Regions from separate parts of the Homo sapiens genome. Here regions 1, 2, 4, 5, 6 and 7 are each linked to region 3. The links are contacts of gene promoters, found by promoter capture Hi-C in blood cells and fetal thymus (Javierre and others, 2016). All regions are on one chromosome and are shown on one strand. Each heading gives the region's core, a stretch centred on a gene start or on the middle of the fragment in contact. The rest is flanking DNA. Distances are from core to core; before and after follow the strand shown. Region 1 holds the start of XRN2 (5'-3' exoribonuclease 2). Region 2 holds the start of ISM1-AS1 (ISM1 antisense RNA 1). Region 3 holds the start of SNRPB2 (small nuclear ribonucleoprotein polypeptide B2). Region 4 overlaps TASP1 (taspase 1). Region 5 holds the start of KIZ (kizuna centrosomal protein). Region 6 overlaps ISM1 (isthmin 1). Region 7 overlaps CFAP61 (cilia and flagella associated protein 61).

Region 1 (2,700 bases), core at 1-2,500, 4.6 Mb before region 3:
GTTAAAGGTGGAGAAATGGGATGAGAAGGGGTAGAGCAAGAACTGTTGCTTTTTGTTTAACCCACGTGCAAGTAAAGTTCAATAAAGTTCGATTAAAATTTTACAAAGGAAACAAGTATTCAATTTAGCAGTTGCTTTTTGAAAAAAACAAGAAATAGTGGGAATGTCACTAAGACAAGGCTTTTGGTTCCTCCTTGGATAGAAGCCAAGAAAGTTAAAAAAAAAAAAAAAAGCAGAAATAAGTTCACAGTGACAGGCAAGCACTGCCTTCAAAAACTAAGGAGTGAGGTACGCGTGATGTGCCTCTGAACGTTTCCAATCCAGAAATTCTAATTAAGAGCACAAAATCGAATCCGCATGGAATGACGAAAACAATAAAAACAAAACTCAATAATGGCCAAAAATCTACTTACGTATTAACTAACAACAAAAATTGTACTGCTCAAGTACATCCAGTAATCTTGAAATTTTCAACAAGCACCCACCCCGTTCAGTAGTCAGGGCACACAGAGAAGGGTAACTTCTCAGAATTCTATAGCGCTCATCCTGGACCTGACATACTGCTTTCAGCGTCCAATCTAACCAGAACAACAAATGGTCCTGAACACTAGGAGAAAACCTTTCCGGCACAATTGGTAAACAACGAAAAGGTCGCCGCCAGGGATTCCTTTACAAGGTTGTCAAAAAGCTGGCCTCCGAATCCGTGCATCCATAACCCGCTAGCTCAGCTGACCTGGCATGCATTGCTCAACAACAGCCTCTGAACCTCTTCCGAGACCCAAAATGCGCGGTCTGGAGAGGAAACAAAGCAGTGGGCGGGGCCTTCCGGTGCCGGGAAAAAGCGAGTAGGGGAGGAGCGACCCTCCTGCGAGTTCGGAACCCTATAGGCCCTTGCCCCGCCGAGGGTCCTGAATTCCTCGCCCCCGGGGTGCTGAATCCCACAGCCCGCGTCCCATCGCGTGTGGGGCTGCGACTGCTCGCGAGGCTGGCAGCAGGGCGCGAGCTCCGGCAAGGCTCCCCGGGGGCAGGCGGCGGAGCCCATGGGCCGCGGCCTAGACGTGCCGGGGGCCCGGGCTCGAGTGTGGCGGCCGCCTGGCGCCTCCTCACCTTCTCTTCCACGCAGTTGACTATGATGGACGGGTACTTGCGGCTGAGCCAGCGGAAGAACGCCGGGACTCCCATAGCGGCACACGGCTGGAGGCGGCGGCCGACCGGCTGACGAGCGTAACCAAAGAGACGGGAGCAGCGGCAGAGGGCACCAGCACTTCCTCCCACGTGCGCGCTGGAGAACGGAAGTGACGTCACGGCGCCGCCGCCGGGGAAGCTGGGAAGGAGGCTTCGCTGGATGAGGGAGCGGCGGAAAAGGGCCTTGCCGGGCTGTTTGTGGGAGGCGGAGTCCGGCGGCGGACCGGGTGGCGAAGGCTGCAGCTCGCCCTCGGTGGTCCCAGCCCCGGAGCGCGAGGCCGAGCGCGTCTGAGTTGCGGGGGCTCACGGGCGACTGCTCTGCCGGGGCTCCGCCGGGATCTCCCAGCCCCAGCCCTCCGGCTCCCTGGGCACAGAATCGCTGCGCTCTGCATGCCCGGGAGGAGGTCTCCCTTGCCCGTTTGGTCACCTCTTGTTTGGAAGAAAATGTCTTTTTTTGCCTCTATGCTCACCCGTCTCAATCTAGGGTAGAATCGAAGCATCCAAACTTACTCGTTACTTCCATTTCCTGGTTTCTCCTAGTTTTGTGCTGCAGTACGTACCTGGACTATCAAAAGGAGCATTTTAAAGCATTTTACAGTAATAATGGCTGCTTTGCACCAATAATTTGATTGTTATGCAAATAAATAATTATGATAGTTACCGAATGGAATCTAGCCGGTATTTAGCATCCAATACAATCTTCCAGCTACAATTACGGGTATAAAATAGTTGCTAATATGATTTTCCAGCATTTACTGAGCCTTTACAGTGTACCAAGACATTGACTAAGGGATTGTCCTATGTAATCTTCACTTGAACCTTGTGAGGGTACTGTTAGCACCCTCGTGTAAATGATAAGAAAGCCAAGTTACAGAGGAGTTAAGTCACTTATGCACATAGCTTCTGTTTCAGTTCAAGCAAAGGTCATTTTTAATCCATCCTTGTTCTAACACGATACTTTTATCTTTTGTTTTCTGGTGGTCCCAAACGAATTTTTTCCATATGAAAGGAGAGGTCTGGAAGAGGAGGTATATTTGTCCGTTTGCTCAAGCCTGGAAGTCTCCCTGAATCCCCTCTTGGTTTGACACACATCACACACGATGCTAAATGCTCACCTCATGAGGCCTCTGTGAAAGTATTTCGCCGAGTTACCTCACAGGCAGTATTTATTGCCCCCTCCTCTGTGGTCTGATGACTACTTTGTTTAAACTACTAGTGTGGAAATTAGAGAAATAGTCATCCCGTGTTTTACTTAAGGATAGCCAAAACTATTCCAAAGTATTATGTCTATGGTGAAATTCCTCCTTTTACCTGGAAGCAGCCCCTCTGGTTTCCCTGGGAGGTGCTGTTATAGGAACATGTACACCATAGGCAGTTCAGGGATAGACAGCTGGCCAAGTTGAGCCATTTAGAATCCTTAACCAGCATTTTGGCGGGTTGGGAGGGTTTATTGTTTTGTTTTTGTTTTTTCAGACGGAGTCTCAGTCATCCAGGCTGGAGTGCAGTGGCAAGATC
Region 2 (2,700 bases), core at 49-2,548, 3.5 Mb after region 3:
TTTCCCTCTACTGCATCTCAACCACCCTCTTCCCTAGACCTTTTGTCAGTAAACCTTCTACATAAAGACACTTTCCATTCTTTTAACTCATTTTTCCAGTTTTAAAACTCATTGAGATCTCCAAGCCACTGCCATTTTCTCACCTCCCTTCAGCCTTCTCTTGTTTTTACTTTCCTTCTTCAACAAGTGTTCTTTTATTTTAATCATTTCCTTGCAACGGCCCTCAACTCTGCTTGCCCCTTTCTCTTCTCCTTATATATTTGACTGGCAACACCTCCATTTTGGTTGAACTCAGTGATCCAACTTCTGTAGGTTAGTAGCCAAGCAGGTGGGTGATGGGAACAATAAAAGCATCCAACTTGACAAACTTGCTTTATTTTAGATTCATGTCCTCAAACCCTCAAATGAATACTAAGCACTGTTCCAAAATCCAACTGCCCTTCCTTCACAACCTTACTTGCTCCAGTATCCAAGATGACCATTTTATATCTTCTCTCCTCAAACGTCCTACTTGTGCTCCTGCCCTCACTTCATATTTCACTGATGGAACAGGAGTCATGAGATGGTAACTCTTTTATTACCATCACTCTATTTATACTCCTGTCTGCATAGCTCATTTTCTTTCTCTTCCCAATTGTTACACAGAACAAGCTTTCCTGCTTCTGTGAAAGGCCAATGCTCACACATAGCCCCTTGCCTTCTTGAAGAATTCACTCCTCATTTCTCCTCTCTCAGTTTTGCATCATCAATCTCTCCCTTTCTATTGGATCGTTCTCATCAGCCTCACAGATGCCCTGGTATCTCTGATCTTACATGAACCAAAAACTCTTTTTTGACCACATGTTCATATATCTCCCCTTTTTATAGTAAAACTTTTGCAAGACTTATTTGTATATTCTGTCTCCATTTCCTCACCTTCCATTTGTTCCTTTACCCAATAGACACTGGAGTCTGTTCCCATGATGCCTCTGCAACTGCAGAGCAGTTGGTGACCTCATTCAGGTCACCAGTCATGGCTGCGTTGCCCAGTTGAATGAGCACTTCTCTGGCCTCATCTTTTTTGTTCTCACAGCAGCATTCGATAGAAGTCCTCTCTCCTTAAGGCATTCTTCTCCCCTGGCTTCTGTGACACACCTCTTGGTTCTCCTTTTACCACTTTCATCATGACACCTCACTCTCAGCTCCCTGTCCACTTCACAGCCTCCCTGCTATTATCTTCACTTACATGTCCCAGAGGCATCTCATATTCCACATGTCCCATATAAATCCACTGACATGAACTCTACCCTTGTGAAACTGGAAGCTGTCTTTGACTCTTCACTTCTTAACTCTGAAATGCAATCCAACAGCATATCCTGTTGGCTCTGTCTCAGAACTGTGCCTTGCATCCATCCACTCTTCTCTACCCTGGTCCACATCCCATCACCTCTTACCTGAATTATTGTGAAATTTTCTAACATATCTATGTTCTTCCCTCTCATTATCCACTGATCAGATGGAGCCATCATTTAGAAGCTCTTCAATGGCTGCTTCCTCACCAATCCTAGAACAGCCATATTCTTTATCATGACCTGCAAAATCCTTGCTTTTTTCTGCAAGTTCATGTGCCACTTTCTTCCTTACACACTGTTCTCCAGTCTCTTTTCCATCCCTTAGTCATGCCAAAGTCCTTCCTATCTCAAGGCTTTGGTGTTTGTGATTCCGTCTGCCTGACTGGCTCTCCTGAGTTCTTTGCAGAGCTGGTCCTTTTATTCCCCCAGCTCAGGACTCAAGTGTCACTTTTCCATCAAGTCCTTCCTTGACCACCCTCTTTTAGTAGGAACTCCCAGTTATTCCCTATCTTTTGCTCCCTGTTTATGTCCTGCTAAGCACCTATCACAATCTATAATAATTCCTTTATTCTGAATCAATTATTGTCAGTTTTCTTTCTAGAACATAAGCTTGTTCTCTATTGAATCTCCAGTGCCTAGCACAATATCTGCTGATCACAGCCACGCGATATGAAAGTGCTGAATGAATGAATGGAATTGTAGAATGCCATGTGGCTGGGCAGTGCTCAATGCTTATATGTACATTATTTCATTTGCCTTACTGCAGTTTGGTTGTATATTAAATAAAAGAGACAATTCATGTCCATTTAATTACCTTTCTGCTCCTGTAACAACCTAAGAGCAACCACCATGTAGCAGGATCCCAGCACTTTAGATGTACACTTACTCTAATTCTCTTTAGCTAAGTGGGGCTATAAAAACTTTTACAGATGTTCAGAAATGGGGGATTGTGTGGCTTCATGAAAGATGACTTGCTTTGGAGTCTGGTACTGGCTGTAGGATAAATGAATGGTATGGTCTTAGCCAAATCTTTTAATTTCTCCAGGTTTTAGATTCTTTGTCAATGAAATGAGACATTGGGGCTTGGCTTTCTTGCCTACAACAACATTCTAGAATTTGGTGAGTGTCTGCAACCTGCCTTCTAAACAGAGTGCCTCACCATGGAGTGCAGGTGGGTTGGAGCACAGATGAAGCCCCGGTCCAACCTGGGCATTCCTGCAGCCATGTGCAGTGACCCTTGTGTATGTGAGTACCTGTCATGTGCCCACGTATCCTGGTGGCACAAAAGGTACTTCATGTAGATTGTCAGGACCAAGACACAGAACGTTCTTGGGGCACACCACAATAATTCCCCCACTAGCATTCACCT
Region 3 (2,700 bases), core at 138-2,637:
ACACTTACGTTTCACTTATGACACGTGACATTTTCTTTCCACCTCCTCAATGAAATAATTTTAAAATGTAGATTTGAAGAAAAATGACCAAAGTAGCAAATGTACATCCAGTAAAAATCATAAGGTTAGACATTAATGAAGTTTGCCAACTACTTAATGGGTGCACTTACAAAGTCCTTCCATACCTATTAATTTGTATACAGCATCACCAAGCTGTCTGGACTCCAAGGTTATCTCTAACCGACTTGAAAGAAAGGAGCTCAATGACAGCAGTGTGGCATGACGATTAAACTCAGATTCCAGTATCAGCCAGATGTGAATTCAAATCCTATTTATGCTTCTTACTAGCTGTTTGCCTGAGGGAAGTTCCTTAACCTCTCAGGTCCTCATCAGTAAAATAAGAATGGTAACAGAACCTACCCAATAGAACTCAGAAGACTAAATGAATTCTAGCACAGTTCTGCATCAGCGGTAAACACTTAAGAGTAGCTATTATTAACAGCTATTACCAGGTAAGGAACTTGCCTAAGGTCACACAGCTAATAAGCATCAGGCCTGGAAATTCAGCCCTTGCTTTCTCCTCTACACTTGTCTTCCTCATATACCACACTATTGCATTTTTTACATGGTTTTTACTTGCAAATTGTGAACTTGGATGATTTCCTTGTGTGCCCCACATATTCCTTTATCTCACAGTATTTACAGAGCATCCACTGTATGTGAACTGCATTGGATGATTGACAAGGGAAGAGCCTACAAGCAGGGGCTGCACTTGTGCAGGTAACAGGTAAAACGTAACGCTTCTCAAAGCCTTGCGACCCCCTAAATCGAAATCTGGAGAAGGGGCAGGGGTCGCAAAGGAGACGACGAAAGGGAAGTGACTGAGGCAGAGGTCAAAGTGAAGGTAGGGGGACAAAGGGGAGGCTCTTGCAGGGTTTCATGCGAGGTTTGATCGTGGGCTGCGTTGTTACAGGGACACCCTGAATTACCCGCCACCACCAAAAGGGAGCCGCTGGAAGACACCTGAAAGCGCAGTGAACTGTCCACGCCTCGCACGAGCAGACTGACATTAACTATCCTTTACTTCGTACGCGCAAGCCTCCCGCCTCTCCAGACACAAGCACCTTCGCCCAAGGCCCCCTAACGAAGTCCAAGGGAGCTGCCACGCGATGCCCGGCCCCAGAGTCAGTCTCCTCACCCCCAAGCCTGCCCCTCCGAGATCCAAACCCGGGCCAAACGCGTACCCACCCCAGCTTCGCGCTTCGTCCGCTCCCAGCTGCAACAGGGGAGAAAAGGGCCGAGGAGCCAGGAAAACCGAAACAGCGAGGTAGAAGGCGCACGAACCCACCTAAGGCCTACGCCGACTACTGTAAGAACCAAAAGCAGGAAACGGAGCCAGGCACCGGAAGCAACGTAGCCACGCTCCTCAATCGAGCGCCGACAAGTCTAGAAGCCGAGCACAGAGCCGATCGATGCTTCCGGGTCTCTGGCAGCCAGGGCTGGCAATCTCTCTGCGCGTGCGTCTGCCCTGCGGGCAGGAGAAGAGTCCGGAAATGGAAATGGGGAAAGAGAAGGGGGTTGTGAGGACCATGCTGCGAGGGAATAGTGAAGGGGAGTGAATCATTTCCCCTACCACGACCTTGCGAAGCTTTACCCGGCGCAACAGTGCCTTCCACCTTTACAAATCCTATGTAATTTTACAGGCGCTGCCCCTCATGCTATGGGGCAGTTAGTCCTGGTTTCGCCCTTCTTTGGGCTCTAGCTACCCCGGTTTAAAATCACCTTTAGGATAGCCAGTTCCTCCTGCCTCCGAGTCTCCTCTGATTCATGGGGCTCTGCAGGAACTGTCCTCCAACACTGTGCTGATGAACTTGAATCTCAGAGGCTACTCAGTTTGAGGGCCCAGGGCAGACAGAACTGGTGTCTGCCCAATTCTCATCTCTCACCAGATAAGGCAACCATGCTGACTAGAACCCAGTCATCTGTAAGATCATCTGCCTCAATTCACTCGAAAAAATAATTCCCTACCACCCTTCCCACTCTTTTCTTCCAACAAAAGGTCTAGATTTTTCTAGGGTATTCTAAGGAGTTAGTATTTATGCCAAGCTGAATGGGAGTTCCCAAAGTGCATGCATTCATTCATCCATCCATTCATCAGATGTCTGTAAAGCATCACCTGGAATATGAAATGGTTGTTAAGAGTCAACTGGAACCTAATCTTGTACCCTCTGCTTAACTAATCTCTCTGACCTTCACTTTTTTCATCTGTAAAATAGGGATCCTAATAGTACCTCCTTCTAGTTGTTGTAAGCATTAAATGAGCTAAAATAAATGTAAAGTGATTGGCACATTGTCAGACACAATAAATGCTCAAAAATGTTATTTCTGAATTCTGGCTATAACTTGGTTCTACTGGTGAGGCAGGTAGCTGTCAAATAAGTTGGTTTTATCAGCTGGGAATTTTTATTTTTTAAAAACACCCAAAGTTGCAACAACTTGAAAATAATATAAGCTTTTTAAGGGTGGGGTTTTTGTCTGCTCTGTTCACTCAAGTACCCTTAGTAATGGGAAAAGTGACTGATAATTAATATGCATTGGATAATTCAATGAATGACATGGAAAACTAGGCAACAGTAAAACAAATATGCTTTGAACATGCACCTGAGTGTAGAGAATGTTAAGGGATCACAGAAAAGCATC
Region 4 (2,700 bases), core at 44-2,543, 3.1 Mb after region 3:
GACAGAGAGATTTAAATTCTAACCTTTTTATATTACCCAATTAAATAATTTTATCCGACTTCAATGGGAATAAGAAAAAATAATTTTAATAAATAGCTTTGATACCTTTTTTGTATTGCTCAATTAAATAACTTAAAAATAGGATTTTTGAACATTATCTTTGCATGAATTTGTGTAAGTAACTTATGTGTTGGTGGAAAGAAATGTATACCATCTTTGCCTGTTTTCCTTTAGGGTAATTCCTCTCCTGCAATTACTTTTGGATGGAAGTATGCCCCTTTCTCAGTAGAAGATGGTAATCTTGGAGAATGACCATGGAGAAGGGGATGAGTTCTGGAGAAGGGCTGCCTTCCAGATCATCTCAGGTTTCGGCTGGTAAAATAACAGCCAAAGAGTTGGAAACAAAGCAGTCCTATAAAGAGAAACGAGGAGGCTTTGTGTTGGTGCATGCAGGTAAGCTTTGTGGATGGCTTGGAAGATGCCAATAATGTTGATTTTTCTTTTTCTGCCTTGAAGTACACTGAGAATCACATTTCACACTTGGAGGAGGCAAAACTGCCAGAGAGGAATTGGAAGCAAAGCGATTGTTTGACTTGGATATAGTGAGGACCTCCCTCTTTACTCCCCAGTTAGAAGATCTTAGAATGGCAGCTCTTCCTAGGTTTTCACTTCCCTAACCTATTATTTACTTTAACTCTATGTAATAGATGTATTTAGGTTAGGTAGTATTAAAACCAGACAAAGTAATTTTTGAACTCTGGTTTATGTTTTTTAAAAATAATGTTGCTGTGGGAGGCTGAGGCAGGAGAATTGCTTGAACCCAGGAGGTGGAGGTTGCAGTGAGCCGACATCATGCCACTGCGCTCCAGCCTGGGCAACAAACCGAGACACCATCTCAATAAAATAAAATAAAATATTGCTGAAAAAATTGTATTGATTCCCATGTGAGACTGTGGGTATCTTAGGGCATAATTATTACACAATCTTTGAGCTGGTTCACCTTCTTTTTTTTTTTTTTTTTTGAGATGGAGTTTTACTCTTGTCGCCCAGGTTGGAATGCAATGGTGTGATCTTGGCTCACTGCAGCCTCCACCTCCCAAGTTCAAGCAATTCACCTGCCTCAGCCTCTTGAGTAGCTGGGATTACAGACGTCCACCATCACGTCTGGCTAATTTTTGTATTTTTAGTAGATGGGGTTTCACCATATTGGCCAGGTGGGTCTCAAACTCCTGACCTCGGGTGATCCACCTGCCTTGGCCTCCCAAAGTGCTGGGATTACAGGCGTAAGCCACCACACCCGGCCCACCCTCTTAATATTTTAAGTGAGGAACCTTAAGACCAGAGAGATTAAGTGACTTAAGAGACTTCAGACACTGGTGGTTGGTGCTAGAGCCAGTGTAAGAAACACCTAAGTAGGCCCTTATGTCTCAGTCTAGTGCTTTTGATGCTGTGTCAGCCTGTGATCTTTCTACTTCAGAGGACCATGAGGACAGACACAGTGGAGTTCATCCCCTGGGCCTCCCATCTTTAAAAGGTCTTGGGTTGCAGAACAGTGCTGCTCTGCCCAGGTTTCCTCAGCAGGCTCTTTTTCCTTTGGCCATTTTTATTTTCTTGTATTCAGAGTCTACTTTCCATGACCTCCATGAAGAGAGAAAGAATGTCTGGGTTTCCTTTTAACTTTCCCTGGGTAGTCAAGCAAGATGACAGCAGGATTAACTTTGATATGGAATGAGGAGTAGAAATGTTTCTTCTTGTGAGACTGGTGTCCTGCCTGGCCATTAACGTTTGGCCATATCTAGACTGGACAACCCGAGAAGCCTTATGTGAATCTAATCCAGAGTATCTAAACAAATCCAAAAAACCAGAAACCAGGTTTAATCCCATTTTCTCACAGGTGCTTTTACAAGGAGGTGAGGTAAATTTACAGAAATAATCCAGTTAAAAGTAGACCTGGGACTAGAGCTTCTGCCTTCAGACTCCTAGTCTGTGTTCTTTCCACTACACTATGTTGATGGTACATCTTCCATTATCTTCCATGATACCAGTGAGTTACCGTATTCAGAGTGAGTGTTTGGAAAGTGTAAAAGAAAGGTCTGAAAGTTGTAACAAGCAATAACATAAAGCTTCAATTAGTTGGAAAGCCTTACTTTCTATAACTATTATGACCCTGTCCCTCCTGTCTTAGACACAGACTAGATGATAATGGCTCTGCCAACCTTAAATAATGGAATTCAGAAGCTATGATTAAAGGTAGAGCTTATTCATGCACAAAGCTTGAGGATGTCCACCTGGGAAACACTGACTCCAAACAAATGGGGTCTGTGTTCCAAAGTGGAGAAGTTAAGTTTTCATTTATGTAGGTAGAGATAGAAAAATTTTAGCAGGATGGTAACATTTTCCGTAGGAGACCAGTGCATAAGTTACAGCAATTTGATTGGTTATAGATTGCTACATCCTAAGGAAGATTACTTTTTACTTTGTGAGAAGGGGCAGTGATCTGAGAGGGTCTTATCTCTGGTGTTGTTTGGTCTTCCTAATTATTTACAGGAAAAAGGCAAAAGTTGCAGCTGCATGTTGTGTGACTCAGGGTGCATAGCCACATTCCTTTCAAGGCTCAGAATGATTTAATGGCTCAACTTTTTTTTTTTTTTTTAAGACTAAGTTTCGCTCTTGTTGCCCAGGCTGCAGTGGTGTGATCTT
Region 5 (2,700 bases), core at 171-2,670, 4.4 Mb before region 3:
CTCTTAGATCTAGCTGTTTTCAGTGGTTCCCATCTTTCATATCTTAATCAAAGGCATCATGAACCCTCTGGAAGCTGGACTTCTCTAGCTGGAAATTTCATCCCTTCGCTGGAAATCTAGCCAGCCCTCGCTACCCCTAAAAGTCTCCTGAGTTTAAACGGGGGCACATGTTTGACACACACACACACAACCGTCTGCGTTCCAGGACTTGTCATCATTGATGCAGTGCAGCTGTCACGGCGGGATGGCAATTTGAAGAGAGTGGGGAGGGGGCGTGTAAAAGGGGACAAGAGAAACTCACAAGGCTTGATGGAGAGTGACAGGCAGAAGAACTCCCACCTTCACTTCTGGGCAAATTCTGTGACGCGGCCGCATCCTCAAACCGTAGACCAGGCTTTAGCTGCTATTGACGGGGCGGGGGCGGTCTCTCACCTCTCTCCGCTCCCACCCCCAATACAGGGGGTGGCTCTAGTAAACACTGTCCTCCAGGCCCCACTGGGAGCCTGGGGGGCGTTGCGCGCGGGCCTGGGCCCCGGGGAACCTCGGACGGGGGAGCGGGAAGGAAAATGGGGCAGGGCACGCGGAAGACCCCCGGCGCGGGCCGACTCCCCACCCCCGCCCCAGTGCCCTTACCTGTCCCGCAGCCCGTGCTGGAGTTGGCCCAGCCTCTCGTAGTAGTCGGGACTCGACAGGGGCACGGCCGATGCGAGGGTCCGGCTCATGCTGCTGCCGCTGCGCCAGCTCAGCACAGCCTCTGGGTGGCCGTTCGGCCGGGGTTGCCGAAGGAGACCGCCCCACCATGCACCGCGGGTAAACACCGCGCCGGGCCGCCTGCAGGAGGCGGGGCAAGACGCCGTGGGGGCGGGGCGCCGCTGAGGGACGGGGCGGAAGCCGGCTTTGTGGGGGGCGGGACGAAGACCTGCATGGGGCGGGGAAGAGGCGTGGCAGAGGCGGGGCGTCGTGAGGCCGGGGCGGACCACGTCGGAGGGGCGGGCGCTCGGTGCCCTCTCCTCTCTCCCTTGACGCGGTGTCTCCTTTCCCCTCACCTTCCAGGATTCGCACAAGCTACGTTAATGTTACAAGGCGCATTCCCTCCCTTTCTTTCGTCTCTCGCTTGCTTCTTTTCCTCGATCTCCTTTCTTGCCAGGATTTGTTGAGTGCCAGGCACTGTACTAAGCTTGTTCTATTATATCAGCACTCAAAAGCGACACAAAACACCAAGTAAAAAAAGACAAACCCTCAAATGCTAAACAGCCGTGCTCAGCCCCGACAGTGGACCAACCCCTTACTCGAAAATCCGTGCTGAATCTAAGGATTGTTCCAGGTGCCAGTATCGTTGGCGAGAGGGAAAAGTTGATAACTAGTTGCTTGGGAAGCAGACGTTTGTGCAGACAGCTCTAAGGGACAATGCTCCTAATGTCCTGTAGGATCCTCTAGCAGGAGCCCGGGAGCCAGACTGCCTGGGTGTACATTCCCTATCCACGTCCCAGCTGCCAAGCCGTGTGCAAGTCACCCCAGGTTTCCTCATATGTAAAGTGGGAGGCTGTTAACACAGGATTAGTTTAGGATTCGATTGTTAATATGTGTTAGTGTTTATAAGTGGGCCCAGCACATAGAAAGCATCAGGTTTTATTATCATCACCAACGTCGGGAAAAAGCTTCCTGAAGGAAGCCAACCATATTTCAAAACCCACTGGGCAGAAAAATTAAGCCTTAGCCTGCTTCTCTGCCTTCCTTTCCTTTTTTTTTTTTTTTTTTTTGAGACAGAGTCTCACTCTGTTGCCCAGGCTGGAGTGCAGTGGCGTGATCTCGGCTCACTGCAAGCTCTGCCTCCCGGGTTCAAAAGATTCTCGTGCCTCAGCCTCCTGAATAACTGGGATTACAGGTGTGCGCTACCACACCCAGATAATTTTTGTTTTTTTTGGTATTTTTTATATTTTAAGGAGAGACGGGGTTTCACCATGTTGGCCAGGCTGGTCTTGAACTCCCAACCTCAGGTGATCCACCCACCTTGGCCTCCCAAAGTGTTAGGATTACTTGCATGAGCCACCATGCCCGGCCTGTAGAGTTTCTTTAGTCTCTTATTGTTCACTTCTTTTGGTTTCTTTCCTATGCCATTAATTTTACTTACACATACAAGGTGCAAGGTGTGACAAACTAAAATTGTAAGAGAGATGGAACACTCAAAGGCCAACAACACAAAACTATGATTTTACTCAGCCTTCCATTCACATTTGCCAGTTCCAGGGCAAGAGTGTGAATGGAGGCCCTCATACCATCCGCCTAAATATTGAATTATAATTCAAGATAACAAACTTAGGTAAAATACGTGTTCTCCTCTCCACTTTGACCAATATGCCTTCTTAAGAACCTGGACAACCAGGGTGGAATTTAGTTTGCCTGCTTCTCCAGCTCCCCCCAACTCCATTTCCCACCCCAGGCTCAGTCTTGCTTTGTGAGGGGGTCTCATACACTAGCAGGGATGTGTGTGCCCTGCCTCTTCTCCTCCTCTTCTCCAGCCAGCAAGTCCCAACTCTGCCTACATCCCCACCTCAGCCTCCTCTTGGCCGGGCAGTGAGCATGCCAGTGATGGTCACCCTTGCAGGAAAGACCCAGCCAAGAGGCCTTTTAAAGCCTTAGAAAGCAGCTTGGGCCCCTTTGAGCAGGGAAGGTAAGGGTGTTGGGTACTTAGAACGTGTT
Region 6 (2,700 bases), core at 1-2,500, 3.5 Mb after region 3:
GACAACCATTCAAAGACTAACATTTTTATTTTCATCAGCCAGTTACCCAATATGGAGAGTGTACTCAAAACTTTTTACTGCCACCTTGTAACATCGTACCTATTAATGTTTTGAGCACACTAGGGCATACTAGGGGAGACAGTCATACAAAGAGTCAAAAATGTAACCCCTAGTGCGCTGAAACTACAAAAAAAGTTAGATAACATTTATACATATATGTGTATTATGTATATATAATGTATGTGTATATATACATATATGTCATAGTTAACACAGTAAGACTGTCAAGATACATTTGAAAATGTAAATTGTTAAAAGCCTTTCTCTCTCTTGAGTGTATGACTTTATCAAGAACTTGCAGTAGAAATATGCTTCAAATAGCTCCCCACTATAAAATAACGAAAATAAATGAAGAAGCTTCTAGCTGTGCAACCTTGGGCAAATTACCTAACCTCAGTTTCTCCTTTTGAAACAGGGATAATGATAGCACCTAATTCCCGGGATTTTTGTGAGGATTAAGAAAGCTAGTATGGGCCGGGCGCGGTGGCTCACGCCTGTAATCCCAGCACTTTGGGAGGCCAAGGCGGGCGGATCATGAGGTCAGGAGAGTGAGACCATCCTGGCTAACACGGTGAAACCCCGTCTCTACTAAAAATACAAAAAAAAAAAAAATTAGCCGGGCGTGGTGGCAGGCGCCTGTAGTCCCAGCTACTTGGGAGGCTGAGGCAGGAGAATGGCATGAACCCGGGAAGTGGAGGTTGCAGTGAGCAGAGATCGCGCCACTGCACTCCAGCCTGGGCGACAGAGCAAGACTGCGTCTCAAAAAAAAAAAAAAAAAAAAAAGAAAGAAAGCTAGTATGTGTAAAGTGCTAAGAACAGTGCCTGCCACATAAAAGGCACTTAATAAATCTTAACTATTATTGTTGCTTTTCTTACTACTACTTTATTGGGCGTCCTTGATATATCCTTAAATAAGAATGTGTCCCTTTTTAAGTGAATACAAACATACTACAATTCAGGTAAATAAACTCACCATTGCATATTTCTGACTAAGACAACCTTATATTTTAGAAGGTTGTACACAGAGATAAAAACAATAAAAATGATGTATATGGATTGATTAATTTTCTGATTGTGAAGAAGGATTTTAGTAGCTCAGGATAGCACAGAACCAACAAATTTAGATGATGTTTAAGACTTGGGTTTAAAATGTCTGGTAAAAAGAAAGAATACAGTGTCCACAGTTTTGTCTTCAAATACACCTGCTACTAGCAAATTCACTTTCTGGGGCCTGAAAACGATGGACTAATAAATGTCTTTTGCAGACCTCCTCATTTGGCAGAACATTCTTCTTTTGACTTATAATACCTTCAGAGAGTCAGAGGGCCAAAGAAATAACTTTGGTCAGGAAGAGTATAAAACTTTTATAATAACAAATTACAAAACAGCAAAATTATGAACTAAACTGCTAAACTCATCATTCTGCTTGGAAAAGTGTGTGCATTGAGTGGACAGTCTCACCGAACACTATTACAAGATAAGCTGAAGCTGGTGGATTAGCAGCTACTTGGGACTCAAGATATTTCTAGGAGCATAACTCTTTCTAAATCCCCCATTTGTTGTGTCCTCTTGGGGCAGTTCTTCAGCCAAAGCCCCTTTTGAGAATTCAGTCCACTTCCCTTTTAGAACTGCCACTTCCACCAGCTGCTTCTCTCATTACCTTACTGTTCAAGCGGAAAAGGCCAACCCCGGGTTATTCTAATGATAGCAAACACCTCATAAAGTAATCTGCCAAATTTACTTTTCCACAGAACATCATTTTTATGGCTTTTCATGAGTCCATGAGGAAAGAAAGCATCATGTATAAAATATAACTTCCAGAAATCTTGAAGATATTAAGAATTATCTCCGCAGTGTTAGATTGGTGGGTGCCCCAGTCTATAGGATGGTGGCATCTTCAACTTCCGCATAGAAATTCCCTCAGTCTGTCACTGTACTTATCTACCCACGGGAGAAGGTGAGAGAACCCACAAAGTTAGGACATTTTTAGAAATGTCTCAAAGTTAAAACAACTTTAAGCTTTGGGGTGTGTACTTTTCTACTGTTTTGTAATTGCGTGCAATAATCACCTTGCTTTAGTCTATCCTGGTAGAGACAAAATTTGGTGTAATCAAGAGTTTGGAATGTCTGAACTTTGACAAGTTTTTTAACCTCTCTGTACCTCAGTTTTTGCATCTGTAAATGAGGCTATATTAACAGTACCATGTCTTGTAAGATTATGGTTAAATTAAGTGAGTTAAATTCTGTAAAGTACTTAAAACGGTGGCACGTAGTAAACACAATGGAAGTGTTTTATTAGTTTTCTCTTTACGGTAAAGTTTTTCGCAATAAATTGTATAAAGATGTAAAAAGTGAATTATCAAAGACAATGAATATAAAGGCCTTTGGGAACAATGAATAATGCTTATTTCATTTTATTTATTTATTTATTTATTTTATTTTATTTTATTTTATTTTATTTTTTTTTTGAGACGGAGTCTCGCTCTGTCGCCCAGGCTGGAGTGCAGTGGCGCGATCTCAGCTCACTACAACCTCCCGGGTTCAAGCAATTCTCCTGCCTCAGCCTCCCGAGTAACTGGGACTACAGGCGTGCGCCACCACGCCCAGCTAATTTTTGTATTTTTAGTAGAGACGGGGTTT
Region 7 (2,700 bases), core at 149-2,648, 3.3 Mb before region 3:
AGATATCCTAACGTGTGTAATTATGGAAAATCTCTCCAGCCCTTGTGGGTGGAATTCAATAATATTTCATCAATGGAAGAAACTAATTTTTTAAATTCTGCTTTCTGAAACACAACTAGTCACGAGGGATTTAGTTAAAGGATTGTGGATCTATAATGCCCTTTTATTACCTGCTTAACCTCAGCAACATTTGTGATTATGTCCTTTTCACATTACTTTGAAAGTTTTTCTTTTTTTCCTGATTAATCTTGTCAGATTTTTTTTTTCTTTAGGCTTTTTAAAGAACAAACTTTTGGCTTTGTTTATCCTCTACCAGATGCTTGTTTCCTGTTTCATTAATATGCGCTCTTGTCCTTTATTTTCTGTTTTCCTTGAGTTGATTCGACTGTTCTTGCTCTTAGAGGTAAACTCTGAACTTTATTTCAGGCCTTTCTTCTCTTCTGTTATAAGCATTTAAGGTTATAAGTTCCCTCTAAGACCTGCTATTTTGTTCAACTATTTCTGCATAACAGATTATCCCAAATTTAGTGGCTACTCTGTTTTATTTGCTCATGATTCTATGGGTGAGAGATTCAGACAGGGTACAGTAGGGGTATCTGTTGGGGCAAGAACCTCCAAGACGGTTTTTTTCCCTCATGTGTCTTGTGCCTCAGTGAGGGTGGCCCAAAGGGGCTGGGGTGTGCCTGGAAGAGTGACATGGGGCCTTCCTTCTTGCTGGAGGCTGGGCTCCTCAATTCTCCTCCATGTAGGCACACACTTCTCTCTTACGATATGGCCTCTCTGGGTGGTATGTCCAGTAGAGTAGCCAGACTTTTTACATGGTAGTGCAAGGCTCCCAAGATCACAAAACTGAAAGCTCCCAGCAAAGGCTCGAACTAGGGTGAGGCCAGAGGGACCCAGGGTTCAAAAATGGAAGGAGGTGTTCACTCTCAGGTTCATGCAGGGGCCCTAGCTGGGAGTGAGTACCCAGGATACCCTGCGTGCCTCTCCTGGGCCAGCCCTGCTGCCAGGCCATCTTAACGCTTGGGCCTGGGACCAGGACAGCCCCACTTCCATTACATTCTGTCAGGGGAATCACAGGCTCAACAAAGATAGAAAACATGGGGACTACAGCAGGGAGAATGGCACAAAAAGGCATGGGGAACACAGGGAGGCGGGAGAGTCTCCAGTGCTCTACCTGTGATTTTCACTTTTATCTATTTTAGAACTGTGTTGTTAGAAGCATATAAGTTTAAAGCTGTCATAGCTCTCCCAACAACAGTTTTATCATTATATAGTGACCCTCTTTATCTGTAGGGAGCTTTTTGTCCTGAACTATACACTGTCTGCTGTTGATATAGCAATACTAGCCCTTATTTTGGGTGAGATTTTGGGTGGCATATCTTTTTTCCTGATACTTTGACTTTAAATATTTCTGTGACTTTATATATGAGGTATGTCTCACAAATAGAATATGACTGTTTTGTTTTGAGCCAATCTGCCATTCTTAATCTTTTAATGGAAGATTTTTGTCCAGATGCATTTATTATGATTGCTGATATAGTAAAATTTATTTTCTTATTCTGTAATTTTAATACATTCTATGCTTTTTGTTTCTTTTTTCCTCCTCCTGTCTTGTCCTCTTTTAGATTCAGGGTTCATTTTAAATTTCTCATTCCATTTTTCCCTCTATAGATCAGAAGTTATCATCTCTACACCTGTTCTTTTAATGATGATCTTAACCATGTTAATATATATTCCTAACAGTCTTTATTATCTGTTCCAGTTATCAACTGATGTGTAATAAACCACCCCAAACCTCAGTGGCTTTAAGTAGCAATTATTATCTCTCATGGTTCTGTGGGCTGCCTGGGTTGAACTAAGCAGTTTTTGCACGGTATCTCAGGCTATCAAATGGCAGCAGTGGCTAAAGCCATCTGAAGACTCAGTGTCTAAGACGGCTTACTTGCATGGTTGGCAGCTGGTGGCAGTTGCTAGCGGGGAGCTCAGCAGAGGCTGTCAAATGAAGCACCCACAGGGAAACATGTGACTGGAGCTTTCATCAGTGTGGCACTGGGTTCTGAGAAGGAGCACTTCCGGAGACCCAGTGGAAGTTGCAAGACTTCTTATGACTTAGACTTGAAGTCAAATAGAGTCTCACTTCTGCTGCTTTCCATTGGCTGCATAAGGCGAGCCATGATTCTTTGTGAGAACAGACTACACAAAGGCGTAAGTGACAGGATGTGTGGCTCATTGGAGCCAGGGGAGCCTGTTTGCACACCACTTACCACACCCTCCATCTTAAATAAAACCTGAAGGATTCTTTCATTCTAATCATGCTCCTCCCAATTTATATAATGTTTTTGTCCTGAATCTTAGTTTTAACATATGGTTTATACCTCACAAATCAGTCATTATCAATATTATTGTTTTATGCAAGTCATACTTTTTCTTAGATTTACCTATATATTTTCCATATTTTTGTTGACATTCCTTCTTGTGTTTTGAGCTTTCCAGCTGAGGTATTCTCTGTTCCTCCAAAAACATATTCTGAGGAATTTCCTCCATTCAGAGTTTATTGGCAAATGACTTAGGTTTTTGTTTGTCAGAAAATGCATTTATTTTCTCCCAGGTCCCCTAGGAATTGTTTCACTGGGTGAAACAATGTCACAATTCTAAATTGATGTTATTTTTCTCTCCACTATTGAAGATATTCTACTA

Evidence for each region. Contacts are between HindIII fragments. The CHiCAGO score rates a contact against its expected background, and 5 or more counts as called.
Region 1: a contact is called between the fragment with the promoter of XRN2 here and the fragment with the promoter of SNRPB2 in region 3, in 1 of 17 cell types (naive CD8 T cells). The highest score is 8.8, in naive CD8 T cells.
Region 2: a contact is called between a fragment that was not itself captured here and the fragment with the promoter of SNRPB2 in region 3, in 1 of 17 cell types (naive CD4 T cells). The highest score is 6.0, in naive CD4 T cells.
Region 4: a contact is called between a fragment that was not itself captured here and the fragment with the promoter of SNRPB2 in region 3, in 4 of 17 cell types (naive CD8 T cells, non-activated CD4 T cells, total CD4 T cells and 1 more). The highest score is 7.5, in naive CD8 T cells.
Region 5: a fragment that was not itself captured here is called in contact with the fragment with the promoter of SNRPB2 in region 3 in 3 of 17 cell types (naive CD4 T cells, naive CD8 T cells and total CD8 T cells); the score reaches 8.5 in naive CD4 T cells.
Region 6: a contact is called between a fragment that was not itself captured here and the fragment with the promoter of SNRPB2 in region 3, in 1 of 17 cell types (non-activated CD4 T cells). The highest score is 6.1, in non-activated CD4 T cells.
Region 7: a contact is called between a fragment that was not itself captured here and the fragment with the promoter of SNRPB2 in region 3, in 1 of 17 cell types (non-activated CD4 T cells). The highest score is 7.1, in non-activated CD4 T cells.

The regions. Positions count from the first base shown.
Region 1 is chr20:21,301,881-21,304,580 of GRCh38, reverse strand. XRN2 (5'-3' exoribonuclease 2) reads right to left here and starts at 1,250. Exons shown (of 30, transcript NM_012255.5): 1 at 1,108-1,250. The coding sequence starts at 1,182. RefSeq lists an enhancer at 653-702 and a silencer at 1,423-1,552. The HindIII fragment of the contact is 6,284 bases long and covers 1-2,700 here.
Region 2 is chr20:13,239,466-13,242,165 of GRCh38, reverse strand. The region is part of intron 1 of ISM1 (isthmin 1); the gene reads right to left. It overlaps ISM1-AS1 (ISM1 antisense RNA 1), which reads left to right and starts at 2,479. Exons shown (of 3, transcript NR_040043.1): 1 at 2,479-2,700. It also overlaps a transcript of TASP1 not described here. The HindIII fragment of the contact is 1,289 bases long and covers 654-1,942 here.
Region 3 is chr20:16,728,713-16,731,412 of GRCh38, reverse strand. It overlaps SNRPB2 (small nuclear ribonucleoprotein polypeptide B2), which reads right to left and starts at 1,387. Exons shown (of 7, transcript NM_003092.5): 1 at 1,249-1,387. RefSeq lists a silencer at 930-979 and enhancers at 1,130-1,249, 1,300-1,349, 1,408-2,276. The HindIII fragment of the contact is 9,448 bases long and covers 1-1,650 here.
Region 4 is chr20:13,627,687-13,630,386 of GRCh38, reverse strand. TASP1 (taspase 1) reads left to right here. Exons shown (of 14, transcript NM_017714.3): 2 at 235-453. The coding sequence starts at 309. Among named protein-coding and RNA genes, the nearest start is that of TASP1, 9.9 kb to the left of the region's middle. The HindIII fragment of the contact is 1,665 bases long and covers 461-2,125 here.
Region 5 is chr20:21,124,138-21,126,837 of GRCh38, reverse strand. KIZ (kizuna centrosomal protein) reads right to left here and starts at 756. Exons shown (of 13, transcript NM_018474.6): 1 at 634-756. The coding sequence starts at 722. RefSeq lists enhancers at 238-287, 1,188-1,287 and a silencer at 448-1,027. The HindIII fragment of the contact is 481 bases long and covers 1,180-1,660 here.
Region 6 is chr20:13,222,985-13,225,684 of GRCh38, reverse strand. The region is part of intron 1 of ISM1 (isthmin 1); the gene reads right to left. It also overlaps a transcript of TASP1 not described here. Among named protein-coding and RNA genes, the nearest start is that of ISM1, 3.1 kb to the right of the region's middle. The HindIII fragment of the contact is 1,662 bases long and covers 420-2,081 here.
Region 7 is chr20:20,060,160-20,062,859 of GRCh38, reverse strand. The region is part of intron 2 of CFAP61 (cilia and flagella associated protein 61); the gene reads right to left. Among named protein-coding and RNA genes, the nearest start is that of CFAP61, 9.0 kb to the right of the region's middle. The HindIII fragment of the contact is 6,753 bases long and covers 1-2,700 here.